Regions from separate parts of the Homo sapiens genome. Here region 2 is linked to region 1. Evidence: promoter capture Hi-C in 16 types of primary human blood cells and fetal thymus (Javierre and others, 2016). All regions are on one chromosome and are shown on one strand. The core of a region is centred on a gene start or on the middle of the fragment in contact, and the rest is flanking DNA. Distances in the headings are between cores, read along the strand shown.

Region 1 (7,221 bases), core at 342-2,841:
GCCGCCGCTACCGCGGCCGCCGTGGTGCTGAAGCGGACAGCTCCGGAGTGCCTGGCGGCGGCGGCGGCACGGCCCTGCAGCCCCCGCCCGCGGGCGCCTGGGCCGGGGCGGGGGGGCGCCGGCAGCCGCATCGCCGGCCCGCGCTCCTGGCCGCTGCGAGGCTGGGCCCGGAGCCCGCCGCCCGAGCCGGCGCGTCTACACTCCGGACGGCGGCTTCTCCCCCATCCCCTTCAGCACGTCGTCTATCCGGTCATCCTCGATCACCACTGCGCAGGGAGAAAGCGCGTCAGCCGCGCGGCCTCGGGGGGCGGCGGCGATGAGAATGAGCCCCGCGTCCTAGCTTCCCGCGCAGCTACTGCCCGTGGCCCAGCGACGCCCCTCGGAACCCTGTGCCGCGGTGTCCTCCCCGTCCGAACTCTTCTGGAGACCCAACCCGCCGCCAAGCCTAGACCCCCTCCCCTCCCGATGGCGGAACGCCCCTCTTCCAAAGGCTCCAGCTATTCTCCCTCCCAGTGCGAGCCCTCCTGCCACCTGAGCCTTCCTCCCTCTGAGTTGATCAGAAACCTCTTGCTCACGGAATCCCCCTCTTCAACCCGCACTTCAACAGATCCCCCTGCTCAAATGGGGCTCAAACCGAGTATCCAGCTGGTCCAGCCCTCTCCTCAACCTGAGCCCTCTCGCCGCTGGAACCCCTCTTCCGATCCTGGCACCAACAGAGCTCCCCTCCCCATGCAAACAACCAAGACAAGCGGACCCCCGGCCTCCTGCCCTCTCTTGTTAGACGTCCCTCTCGACCCGAAGGTTCTTCGTATTGTCCACCGACTCAGTATTTGATCCCAAAGAATCAGCCCGTTACCCCGTGCTCCCACTTCCGTGCAGCCCCAAATGCCCCGACCGGCCCCTCCCCCTCGCCCGGGTGCCAGGGCTCTGCTTCCAGAGGTGGCGAGCATCGAATCCGGGGCACCGTGTTCCCGGGAGAAGGGAAGAGGGGGACACACACTGCAGCGGGGACCCCCCCCTCCAGCCCGGGCTGGAGAGCGGCTGGTGCGCTGGTCTGCGGCAAGAGCTGCGGGCACTCGGCGGGGAACGGCAGCCGGGGGGCGCCCGGCGGAGGGTTTCTGGGTCAGGCGGCGACTCCGGGCCCGGGCCGCGTACCTCGCTTGGCTCGGCCGATCTGGCCCAGCTTGGGGGGTCGCTTGGCCTGGTTGCCCGCGAAGAAGGAGTTGGTGTCCTGCAGGCGGCAGCTGAAGGAGAGGTCGGAGCCCTCGGGGTCTGCGCCGAAGCGGCCCATCTTGTCTTCGCTGTAGGGCAGGATCTCGGACATGGCGGGCGCGGGGTGGGCGCGGGGCGGGAGCGGGACTGCGGCGGGGCGCGGGCGGCGGGCTTGCTGCCGGACCGGCCCTACCTCAGCAGGGGAGCCGGCGGAAGGATGAAGTCATGCAGCATCCGGGGCTGAGGAGCCAAGCGGGGCCTCCTCCCCCGCGCCTCCGCCTCCCGGGCCGCTGGGCAGGCGGCGGCGGCGGCGGTGGCGGGGACCGGGCGGGGGCGGGGGCGGGGGGCGGGGGTGGCGGCGGCGGCGGCAAGAGCGGAATGACGATGAGCGCCCGACTGCGGCAGAGCACGGCGGGCGGGGCGCGGTGGAGGCGGGGCGGGCACTGGCCAGGGGAAAGAGGCGGGGCCGGGGGCAGGAGCGCGCCCAGCTACCCCGGGAACAGAGGCAGCTGGAGTGGGAGGTTCCCGCACTGTGGCGGGGAATGGCCAGCACGTGGGTCTTGGGGAATAGTACCAGCCAACCCGGCCGGGACCTCGCGGGGAGGGGCGGGACCGAAGGGGGGTGGGATCGAGCCTGGTACTGGAGGAGCTTGGAGGAGGGTCTGACCCCTAGGCTGGGAGAGGCGTGCAAGGGGGACTGGGAGCAGGAGGGCAAAAGCTGGCCGGGCGCGTTGGGGCGGGAAGGCGGCCGCAGGGCTGGCAATGGAAAGCGGGGAGCGGGAAATGCGCGGGGAGGAGACTCGGGTACAGGGTGACTGGGGAAGGCACGAACCCACAGCGCGGGAAGAGCTCGGGCCAGTGGGATGGTGCCCTTGCCGCTGACGCGCTCTTGTACTAGTTGCTCTGCTGGTCTTAAGTAGATCGTCAGGGTCCGTGCGCCTCTGAGTGCCGGTCTGTGTCTCTGTCTCCGCCTTTGTGTGTGTCAGTCCATCTCTAAGTGTCTGTATCTCTCTGTCTCTGTGCCCCGTATCTCTTTCGCTGTGTTATGGCCTTTGTCTATGCCTGTCCCTTAAGTGTCTGCCTTTCTCTATCTATCTCCATTCTTGACTCCTGTATCTCTGTGCCAGTGTCTCCGTCTCCTGAATCTGGGTATTTCAGTCTCTCCTAGGAGGGGTCTATAGAAACTGGGCCGACGCGCGCGCACCAGGGCAGACACCCCCAGCCCTAGTCCGGTGGCTGTAGCCCCCCGCGGCTCTGGAGTGGTGCGCTCGCAGTGTAGGAGGAATGAATGGCGGCGTCGCGGGGGGCGCCCTGGGCTGCGGGTGACGCGGGGAAGCTCGGAGCACCTGAGGACGCGGAGCGCGCCAGTGTGTGCCCCGAGGGAGTGCGGTAGAGATGGAGGGTGCCCCCCGCCCTCGTTGCTTTGGACCACGGGTGAGTTCTCGCCTCACCGATGGGAACATGCCCTCTTCTCCCCTTGCCTCCCGCCCCCACAACCCCCGCCCTGGCTGGCCGTCACCCGCGGCGTCACCTGCTTGCCAGCGCGCAGGAGCTCTGGCGCAATCACTGGCCTTGGGGAGGAGGGGGTGTCTCACATGCGGCGACAGTGACGGCAGCGCTGAAAACGGTAATGATCACCCTGTACGTTCATTCCACACTCCAGGCGAACGCGCTTTCCTTCCTTAATCTGGCCAAATTACCAAATCACACAGCTGGTGAGGCTGCCTTGTAGTGGGTCTCCTTCCAACACTTTCTCGCCAGGTGTTAATACCGGAGACACAGGGACAAACGCAATGGTGGCTGCCCAGGGAACTGGATGGGGGGGGCGGTATGCCACAGGATACCTTGATGCCAGCCTCACTCAAGGGCCCAGGCCTGGGGGCCCATCACTATGAAGCCCTCCTCTGCTCTGTCCTAGTCTCCGGGATGAGGGCCACAGCTGGAGGTGGAGGCCCAGCCTGGAGTGAGAGGAGCCCTGAAACTGGAAGGACAATAAAGGCGGAAGACTGGGGTCACTGGAAGAGAGTCCAGAAAATTCCACATACACTGGAAGTTGTCCAGTAATGGGTTCCAATCCTGACTCCCACTTTCTCAGTGACCTTGAACTGAAGGACCCATAATCATGGTTTTAAAAAATTAATTCGTTTGTACTTAAAACATTTTAGGAGGCCGGGCTCAGTGGCTCACGCCTGCAATACCAGCACTTTGGGAGGCCGAGGTGGGTGGATCACCTGAGGTCAGGAGTTTGAGACCAGCCTGATCAACATGGCAAAACCCTGTCTCTACTAAAAATACAAAAAAAATTAGCCAGGTGTGGCACACACCTGCAGTCCCAGCTACTTGGGAGGCTGAGGCACAAGAACCGCTTGACCTAGGGTGGCAAAGGTGGCAGTTGGCGGACATTGGGCCATTGCACTCCAGCCTGGGTGACAAAGCGAGGCGAGACTCCGTCTCAATAAAAGAAAGAGAGAGAGAGAGAGAGAGAGAGAGAGAGAGAGAGAGAGAGAGAGAGAAAGGAAGGAAGGAAGGAAAAAAATTTTAGGAAAATTAAGAAAATCACATAACATCTTTTTTTTTTTTTTTTTTTTTGACACGGAGTCTTGCTCCGTTGCCCAGGCTGGAGTGCAATGGCGCGATCTTGGCTCACCATAACCTCTACCTCCCAGGTTCAAGCGATTCTCCTGCCTCAGCCTCCCGAGTAGCTGGGACTACAGGCACACGCCACCATGCCCAGCTTTTTTTTTTTTTTTTTTTTTTTTTTTTTTTTGAGATGGAGTCTCACTCTGTCGCCAGGCTGGAGTGCAATGGCGCCATCTCAGCTCACTGCAACCTCCCCCTCCTGTGTTCAAGTGATTCTCATGCCTCAGCCTCCTGGGTAGCTGGGACTACAAGTGTGTGCCACCACTCCCAGCTAATTTTTGTATTTTTAGTAGAGACAGGGTTTCACCATGTTGGCCAGGATGGTCTCAATCTCTTGACCTCGTGATCCGCCCACTCGGCCTCCCAAAGTATTGAGATTACAGGTGTGAGCCACTGCGCCCTGCCAGTCTTTGTATTTTTTGTAGAGATGAGGTTTCACTATGTTGGCCAGGCTGGTCTTGAACTCCTGACCTCGCGATCCGCCCGCCTTGGCCTCCCAAAGTGCTGGGATTATAGGCATGAGCTACCACACCCGGCCTTATAACTATATATATATATATATATCCTTCTAGTCTTTTCACCATGTGTCTGCATGATATGATACCTCTGTAAGCCCCATGTTCTAGTCTGAAGCATGGGGATGATAAAACCTACTTATTAAGGAACGTTTTGCTGGGCAACATTCATGGCTCACACCTATGAATTCCGCCACTCAGAAGGCTGAAGCAGAAGGATCGCTTGAAGCCAGGAGTTGGAGACCAGGCTGGACAACATAACTAGGCCCCATCTCTAAATAAATAAGTAAATAAATAAGCAAGCCGGGTATGGTGGTACACACCTGTGGTCCCAGCTACTTGCAAGGCTGTGGTAGAAGGATCACCTGGGCACAGGAGTTTGAGGCTGCAGTGAGCCATAATGGTGCCACTGCACTCTGGCCTGGGTGACAGAGCAAGACCCTGACTCAAAAAAGAAAGAAAAGGACAGTTTTGTAGATGAAACTGTCCTGGGGTAAAGTGGGTTGTCTCGGGAGGTAGTGAGCTGCCCCTCACCTAAAATGCCAAAGAAGAGGCATGAGGGTTCTTGCCAAGGATGAGATAAGAGTATTGTGTGAGGAATTGAAACAATTCTCCTTTCTCTCTGCACAATGAGGGAGATTGGAAAAATGACAGTTTAATCCAGAATTCACTTGGTTACCTCCTTCTTAAATAATTATATTCCCGTCCCGGCCGTGCCTGCTGGATCATGGTTAAAGCAAAAGTCCTAAGTACAAACCTGTGGACTATTATGATATATAAGCTTCAGCTATGTTGTAAAAATGTGGGGATTTCTTTAAATTCTGCTCCTCTCTTTAAAATTCTGATATTCTGCTTCCTTCCCATGAGAGGAAAATACATTTTCACTAAAATGAAATAAAGCTTGTATAGAGTTGCGTGACAGTGCATTGAGTCTCTCAATTGGAAGTCCCTCAAACCTAGTATACTTGTCCACGTGCTCTACACAGATAACATGCCTTTTGACAATTGAGTATTAGTGACACTTTTAGTCAAGTGGAAACTGTAGACCCCTGTAGTGGATTGAATAGGGACTCCCACAACAATTCAATGTTCACCTGTAACCTCAAAGTGTGACCCAGGGCCAGGTGCAGTGGCTCATGCCTGTAATCCCAGCACTTTGGGAGGCCAAGGCGGGAGGATGACTTGAGCCTAGGAGTTCAAAACCAGCCTGGGCAATATAGTGAGACGCCATCTCTACTAAAAAAAAAAAAATTAGTTAGGCATGGTGGTGCATGCCTGTAGTCCCAGCTACTTGGGAGGCTGAGGTAGGAGGATAACTTGAGCACAGAAGCTAGTTGACAGTGAGCTATGACTGTACCGCACTGCACTGTAGCCTGGGTGGCAGAGCAAGACCCTGTCTAAAAAAAAAAAAAGTGTGACCTTATTTGGAAATAGGGCTTTTGCAGATACAATTAGTTAAGATAAGGTACAGTCAGGCTAGGTGGCTAATGCCTGTAATCCCAGCACTTTGGGAGGCCCAGGCGGGTGGATCACCTGAGGTCAGGAGTTCAAGACCAGCCTGGCCAAGATGGAGAAACCCCATCTCTACTAAAAATAGCCCAGATTGTGCCACTGCACTCCAGCCTCTGTGACAGAGTGAGATCCTGTCTCAAAAAATAAAATAAAATAAAATAAAAAAATATAGGCCGGGTGTGGTGGCTCATGCCTGTAATCCTAGCACTTTGGGAGGCCAAGGCAGGAAGATCCCATGAGCCCAGGAGTTGAAGACCAGCCTGGGCAACATAGGGAGACCCTGTCTTATATAGAAAGAAAAAAATAAAAAATAAATTAAGATGGGGTTATACTGGATTATGGTGGGCCCTAAATCCCATCACCAATGTGTTTATAAGAAGAGAACAGACACACAGGGAAAAAGGCCACATGAAAGACGCAGAGATAGGAGTGAGGGAACTACAAGGTAAGGAAAACCAAGAATTGTTGGGAGCCACCAGCAGCTGAAAGAGGCAAGGAAGAATTCTTTACTAGAGTCTTCCAAAGGAGCTTAACCCTACCAACACCTTGATTTTGGACTTCTGGCCTCCAAAACTGTGAGAGAATAAGTTTCTGTTGTTTTAAGCCCTCAGTTTGTGGTACCTTGTTACAGCGGCCCTAAGAAACAAATACAAGCTGTTAGAAATATTTTGGGGTAAGCTGGGTGTGGTGGCTCACACTTGTAATCCCAGCACTCTGGGAGGCTGAGGCGGGTGGATCACCTGAGGTCAGGAGTTCAAGACCAGCCTGGCCAACATGGCAAAACCCCATCTCTACTAAAAGTACAAAAATTAGCTGGGCATGGTGGTGGGCGCCTGTAATCCTAGCTACTGGGGAGGCTGAGGCAGGAGGATTGCTTGAACCCGGGAGGCAGAGGTAGCAGTGAGCCAAGATTGGCCACTGCACTCCAGCCTGGGTGGCAAAACAAGACTCCATCTCAAAAAATATAGGCCGGGTGTGGTGGCTTACACCTGTAATCCCAGCACTTTGGGAGGCCGAGGCGGGCGGATCATGAGGTCAGGAGATTGAGACCATCCTGGCTAACACGGTGAAATCCCGTCTCCACTAAAAATACAAAAAATTAGCCGGGCGTGGTGGCGGGCGCCTGTAGTCCCAGCTACTTGGGAGGCTGAGGCAGGAGAATGGTGTGAACTTGGGAGGCAGAGCTTGCAGTGAGCTGAGATTGCGCCACTGCACTCCAGCCTGGGTGACAGAGTGAGATTCCATCTCAAAAAAAAAAAAAAAAATACATATGTATATATTTTTTGGGGGGGTAGTATTTTTACTATCATATCTCATGATCATGTTTCTCCTTCCTTAGACT
Region 2 (7,221 bases), core at 2,710-5,209, 270 kb before region 1:
CACAACCGAGAAGCACAGTCCTGTGCAGAACTGGAGTCAGTTCCATTTCACCCCCACCCAGAAATCAAGCCAGTTCCATTTCTTCTCTGGCAACACTGCCCTTTCATCCTTCCAGCTGTTGCCAAAATCCATCGACCCCTTTCAACAGACCTGAAGGCATCTCTAAGACTGCTACCTAGCCCAAAGCTGAGCACAACCTCTGCAACAGAATAAGAGTGTTAGAGCTGGCCGTGGCCGGGCCCCTGGAGACTGTCGGAAAGGATGGTTAGAACTTACTGGTCCACTGAAGCCAGCCAGCTGCGTGATCATCAGGCACACGATGGACAGGATGAGCCTGGTGCGGCAGAAGATCCACACAACCCTTCGCAGGGAAGCAGCGTCTGGCCCAACTTCATTCAGCTCTTCTTGCCACAGTCTCTCTAGTCTTAACAAGGGCACACGTCCTCGTTACACATCTCCTCGGGGGAAAGGCACACCTAGCTCCCCGCCTGCCACCACTTTTTGTCTCCAGGTTTTGCCACCACTCACACAAGTCTCTCCTTTAAAATTATGTACATAGTCTTCACCTTCTGGGAAAAAATACCCTTCCTAGGGAACTACACATTTACCCTGTATAAGGAGCCTCCCAGGATACAGAAAATGATGAGAGCAAAAGCCTTTCTTTCCACCCAGGAAAATGATCCCTGAATGCAATTTGTGAATAAGAACTTTCTTTTTCAGGGGCCCCCAACCCTTTCTGAAGGTTCCTGTGGTAAAATGTAAAGTTGTAAACTACATTTTAATCATGACAATCAGCTACCACAAAAATGTATTCTGTCACAAGGCAGCAACATAATCTCCCTGCAGACTCAGGAAGAGAAGCGGGGCTGAGAGAGAGAGAGAAAGCCCGTGGTTAAAACAGGATCAAAGGTGAAATAGGAGATAAAGCAAAAGAGCAAAGAGAAAGTCATCCCCAGGCCGCCCGCCCTCCACTGGACAGCTCGGCTCTTTAAAGACACAGAGCTGTGGACTTCACACTCCTAGCTCAGGCCCTGCCCACCCGGCATGGGGGAGATGAGGGTGGACCAGAGGCGCCTACCTTCTGCAGTTCACGTCAGAAGACTCGTGCTTGGACAGAGACCACACGTCTTCCATTGAGAGCTCCCCCTTCTTGTGGGCCACACGGGCCAGAGAAGAAAGCCACGAAAAAGTCATACAGGAAAAAAGCCCAGCATTGTCCACTGGGTGCTGGTGTCTAAGGAGAGAAAACCGAAATCACAAAGCTATCAACACGCACGGAGAGGGCAGCCCGTGTTTAATGGACACTGTTTAGTGAACACAGCTCTTAGCTAAAGACCAGTCTCCCCAGATGATCTAATCTTAGCCTGAATGTTCTAAAACGGCTTTGATGGGCCGGGCGCGGTGGCTCACACCTGTAATCCCAGCACTTTGGGAGGCCGAGGCGGGCAGATCATGAGGTCAGGAGATTGAGACTATCCTGGCCAATATGGTGTAACCCCGTCTCTACTAAAAATACAAAAAAATTAGCTGGGCTTGGTGGTGGTGCACGCCTGTAGTCCCAGCTACTCAGGAGGCTGAGAGGCAGGAGAATCACTTGAACCCAGGAGGCGGAGGTTGCAGTGAGCCGAGATCATGCCACTGGCGACAGAGCAAGACTCCATCTCAAAAAAAAAAAAAAAAAAAAAAAAAGGCCTTTGATGCTTCACTGTCATCACTCAGCACGGCATCTTACTTGGAAGTAGTCCGGATGGGCTTCAGAGCACTCAAGCCATGATGGTACTTTCCCTTGGGATGCTCCTCATCCAGGATTCTGAGCTGAGAATGCATGGAGGCATCAAGAGAGAGGCCCTCGGCTCGGGCTGCTGTTTCCAAGGCATCTTGGCATTCCAACTGTTCCAGCAGATAGGGAGAAAGGCAAGAGCACAGTTAATACACAGGCGAGAGGCAAACGGAACTGATGAAACAGCTCAAACTGCAAACTGGACTCATCTTAACTGAGAAATTCCAAGCAAGGGTCAGGAGGTTAAACACTAACTTTGTATGATTTGAACCCATTGGGGAACATTAAGCTAGATATTTAAAAATTTTAAACAGTTTTCTTTTTTTTTTTTTTAGCATCTTTAGGTTTTACAGAAAAACTAATCAGATAGTACAGAATGCTCCCATATACCTCTGTACCTCTCCCGTCCTCCTCATCTGTTTTTCCTATTATTAACATCTTCCATTAGTGTGGTACCTTTGTTACAATTGATGAGCCAATACAGATTCATTATTAACTGAAGTCCATAGGTTACATTAGGGTCCGCTCTTTGTTTTTTTGGGTTTTTTTGAGATAGAGTCTCCCTCTGTCACCCAGGCTGGAGTGCAGTGGCGCAATCTCGGCTCATTGCAACCTCCACCTCCCGGGTTCAAGCAATTCTCCTGCCTCAGCCTCCTGAGTAGCTGGGATTACAGGGATGTGCCACCATGCCTGGCTAATTTTTGTATTTTTAGTAGAGGTGGGGTTTCACCATGTTGGTCAGGCTGGTTTCGAACTCCTGACCTCATGATCCACCTGCCTTGGCCTCCCAAAGTGCTGGGATTACAGGCATGAGCCACCGCGCCCGGCCCTGTTTTTATTTTATTTTATTTTTGAGATGGAGTCTCGCTCTGTTGCCCAGGCCGGAGTGCAGTGGCATGATCTTGGATCACTGCAATCTCAGCCTCCCCGGTTCAAGCAATTCTCATGTCTCAGCCTCCGAGTAGGGGGGTTACAGGCGTGCACCACCATGCCCAGCTAATTTTTGTATTTTTAGTAGACACGGGGTTTCACCATGTTGGCCAGGATGGTCTTGATCTCTTGACCTCGTGATCCGCCCACCTCAGCCTCCCAAAGTGTTGGGATTATAGGTGTGAGCTGCCGCGCCCAGCTTATGGACCACTCTTTGTGTTCTATGTTCTAAAATTTACATTTTTATTACCAAATGTTTTATCTTCTGTTTCCCAATATGGATTGAGAGTCAATTATTTCACTACTAACTGAAAATCTGATTGCCCATTTCCTATGACAAAAATTTCCATCAGCCCCAATTAAACAGCCCTGCCACACAGAAAGAGCCTGGATGTACACGTGCCTCCCCTGTCACAGCAGCAGCAGGGAGAACAGAACGTGAGTTCTTATCCTGGCTGCACAGCTGAAGAGCTCTACACTTCCCTGCAGCACGCAGCAAAGGATCTCATGAGCTGAAATATAAAGTTACACGTATTTACTAACTAGAAAGTGTATAAATGTTCGTTCATTAGATTAACAAAAGTGCATGCAAAAGTGCATTCTAAGTCTGACTGTGGCAGAAGAGGGTGGGTCAAGAATCTAGACACACTTATCCCCCGTTTACTCTAAAAGTAACTCAAACGTTTATGCTTTCCTGTTGTAGAAGCAGAAGCTTCATTTTCCTCAATTTCCTTATCTTCCTTTTCTGTCTTAGCAGTGAAAGTCACATTATTACAAATATTTCCAGCAATTATTGTGAAACAGTAAAAAACAGATCTCAGCTGGGCATGGTGGCTCGCGCCTGTAATCCTGACACTTTGGAAGGATCGGTTGAGCTCAGGAGTTCAAGACCACCCTGGGCAACACAGCAACACACCATCTCTACAAAAAGTAAAAAAAAAAAATCAGCCAGGCATGGTGATGCGTGCCTGCAGTACCAGCTACTTGGGAGATGGAGGCAGGAGGATGACTTCAGCCCAGGAGTTGGAGGCTGCAATGAGCTATGATCGTACCACTGCACTCCAGCCTGGGTGACAGAGCAAGACTCTGTCTCTAAAAGAAGGAAAAAAAAAACAAAAAACAAACAAACAAACAAAAAAACAAGGAGAATAGATCCCCAAATCAAGAAAAAGTTAAGTGGTTTAGCACCTAACACACCAAGCCTTATACAAAGCAGTTGATTTTTATACATCACCTCCTTTCCCACCAAAGAACAGCGGGAACTTAAACATTAACAGAACTGAACGGGTAGAATTTTGTATACAGGAGTCAGCTGGATGCCTGGGCAGATCAAACACAATAGCTTTAGTTCACAGCACAGTTAAGTATCTTTAGATAACTTCTGGTATTAGGAAAGCACATAGCCCTGCAAAGCACACTCCTTTCCTTTTGTCAAAGGCAAGTCAGACCAGTTTCAAGAGAATAATGGTACAACATGACAGGAGTCAACAACAAGAACGAACTCGCTCTTAAATGAAGTCCTTATGTATAAGGTCAACACTTAATTTAGTGGTTAGGGACTACGGCACTTGATAATGAGCTGAGGACTGCTGAGATTTAAGTACATTACAAAGGTTTTTCTTACCTATGAGCTGCATATAATCACAAGGGGAAGGAAAAAACCTCCTGGATTGAGAGAGAAAGATACACTAAAAATACAAGCACACCTACTTTAAGTGAGTAGAAACTGGGAATCTGTACAGAGTAGGTACAGAATGTTACAGGGACCAGCCTTATTTGGATATCCAAAGCTTCAGAAGATGACAAAAGATCTGAAAAATGTCACTTCAAATACATTGCCAAAATGGACTATACATTGGGCTATAAAGCAAACCTCAACAAATCTCAAGACTGACATCATGTATACATGCACTCTGACCACTTTAGGATTTAATTAGAGTTCAGTAACAAAGATTTTTAAAATATCTGAATGTTCAGAAATTATGCAATATACTTCTAAGTAATGTAAGTGAAAGAAAACATCAAACGGGCATGACAATTTGTACCTATATAATCTCAACTACTCAGGAGGCTGAGGTGGGAGGATTGCTTGAGCTCAGGAGTTTGAGGCTGCAGTGAACTTTGATCTCACCACTACACTCCAGACTGGGCAACAGAACAAGACTCTATCTCTTTAAATTAATAAATAAAAAGAAGGCATTAAATGGAAACCAGAACATATTCTGTGCTAAACAGTATGAAACTGCAATACATCAACATCTCTGGGATGCAGCTAAAACAGAGAATAAGGTGAGATTTTCATCGCTTTCAAAGCATATACGCCTGTAATCCTAGCACTTTGGGAGGCCAAGGTGGGCGGATCACGAGGTCAGGAGATCGAGACCATCCTGGCTAACACGGTGAAACCCCGTCTCTACTAAAAAAAAATACAAAAAATTAGCTGGGCGCCATGGCAGGCACCTATAGTCCCAGCTACTCGGGAGGCTGAAGCAGGAGAACGGTGTGAACCTGGGAGGCGGAGCTTGCAGTGAGCCAAGATAGCGCCACTGCACTCCGGCCTGAGCGAAAGAGCGAGACTCCGTCTCAAAAAAAAAATAAAAAATAAAAAAATAAAAGAAGAAAAAGAGAAAAATCAATGCTTTAAGCTAGGGGTTGACAAACATTTTCTGTAAAAGGCCAGAGGTAAATATTTTCAGTTTTGTGGGCTAAGAGGCAAAATCAAAGATATTAAGTAGGTACTCCTATTACAAGAGAAAACAAATCTCCACAAAATGTTGACACAATTCAGATTATAATAATTGAGTACAATTTTTTGTAATGCAGGTCTACTGATGAGAAGAATGAAATTCTTTTATGGGGGAATAACATTTCACTTAACTGGGGTTTAAAATAGTTTTCCCTTTCATCAAAATTGATTGCAAATCTTCATCTATGAATGCTGATTTGCAATGAGAGTCTACAATTCCACTTTTGCAAATGTCTTCGTGAAGGTACTGCCGGGCTGGGCGCAGTGGCTCACACCTGTAAGCCCAGCACTTTGGGAGGCAAAGGCAGGCAGACTCCTTAGGTCAGGAGTCTGAAACCAGCCTGGTCAACATGGTGAATCCCCATCTCTACCAAAAATACAAAAATTAGCAGGGCGTGGTGGCACACACCTATAGTCCCAGATACTCAGGAGGCTGAGGTAGGAGGATCTCTTGAACCAGGGAGGCAGAGATTGCAATGAGTTAAGATTGTGCCACTGCACTCCAGCCTGGGTGACAGAGCAAGACCCTGTCTCAAAAAAAAAAAAAAAAAAAAAGACAGGAACTTCCAAATACTGAGCTAAATCCAGGAATACACATTTTTAATTGAGCCTTTTATCTCATGGAAGACATTATAGAATTCTATTAGATTCCTCTCTTGACATTTACCTTTATCATATCATTACATGCATGCACCCCACTGCAGATTAATCACTTTCAATGGAAAGTTATGTGGAAGCAACTAAATGCCACAGTTAAATGGATTATTTCTATGTGGCAAAATATATATAACATAAAATTTGCCATTTTAGCCATTTTAAGTGTATAGAATTCAGAGGCATTAATTATATTCACAATACTATACAACCATTGCCACTATTTCCAAAATACACGGATCTTGAAATATGGAAATTTGCCTCATACATCATCGAGGTCTAAAAATCACTACTAGAACTGTAATTTCAGTTTGAAAAATATATCCACTACAAATTTGTACTGGAATGGAGATCTCACTTTTTTTTTTTTTTTTTTTTGAGACAGCATCTCGCTCTGTCACCCAGGATGGAGTGCAGTGGCGCAATCTTGGCTCACTGCAATCTCCGCTTCCCGGGTTCCAGCAATTCACTTGCCTCAGCCTCCCAAGTAGCTGGGATTACAAATGCCCACCACCAACCCGTCTAATTTTTGTATTTTTAGTAGAGATGCCATTTTGCCCAGGCTAGTCTCAAACTCCTGACTTCAAGTGGAGATCTCACTTCTTGTTTAACTTTTGATAGCACAAGAAGTATATAAAGCAGCTTGACATTATTTATGATTCAAATATTAGTTGTCATTGAAATTACTTGACCACAGTACCATTTTACATTCCCACTAGCAATGGATGAGAAATCTAGTTTCCCCACATCCTCACCAGTGCTTGGTATTGGCATTTTTTTTTTTACCCCCAAGACGGAGTCTTGATCTGTCGCCCAGACTGGTGTGCAGTGGTGCAATCTCGGGTCACTGCAACCTCCGCCTCCAGGGTTCAAGCAATTCTCCTGCCTCAGCCTCCTGAGTTGCTGGGATTACAGATGCCCACCACCACGCCTGGCTAATTTTTCTATTTTTAGTAGAGACGGGGTTTCACCATGTTGGTCAGGCTGGTCTCGAACTCCTAACCTAGTGATCCGCCTGCCTTGGGCTCCCAAAGTGCTGGGATTACAGGCGTGAGCCACCGCACCTGGCCAGTATTGGCATTATATTTTATTTTAGCCATTCTAATAGGTG

Evidence for each region. Contacts are between HindIII fragments. The CHiCAGO score rates a contact against its expected background, and 5 or more counts as called.
Region 2: a fragment that was not itself captured here is called in contact with the fragment with the promoter of CAMK2N2 in region 1 in 3 of 17 cell types (endothelial precursors, M1 macrophages and M0 macrophages); the score reaches 7.4 in endothelial precursors.

What each region holds. Positions count from the first base shown.
Region 1 is chr3:184,259,962-184,267,182 of GRCh38, forward strand. It overlaps CAMK2N2 (calcium/calmodulin dependent protein kinase II inhibitor 2), which reads right to left and starts at 1,592. Exons shown (of 2, transcript NM_033259.3): 1 at 1,156-1,592; 2 at 1-266. The coding sequence starts at 1,324. The coding sequence ends at 196. All of the region lies in intron 2 of EEF1AKMT4-ECE2 (EEF1AKMT4-ECE2 readthrough), which reads left to right. RefSeq lists enhancers at 1-246, 247-798, 2,684-3,446. The HindIII fragment of the contact is 12,942 bases long and covers 1-5,146 here.
Region 2 is chr3:183,987,494-183,994,714 of GRCh38, forward strand. ABCC5 (ATP binding cassette subfamily C member 5) reads right to left here. Exons shown (of 30, transcript NM_005688.4): 3 at 1,733-1,890; 4 at 1,079-1,234; 5 at 277-424. Among named protein-coding and RNA genes, the nearest start is that of ABCC5-AS1, 15 kb to the right of the region's middle. RefSeq lists an enhancer at 2,580-3,080. The HindIII fragment of the contact is 1,078 bases long and covers 3,421-4,498 here.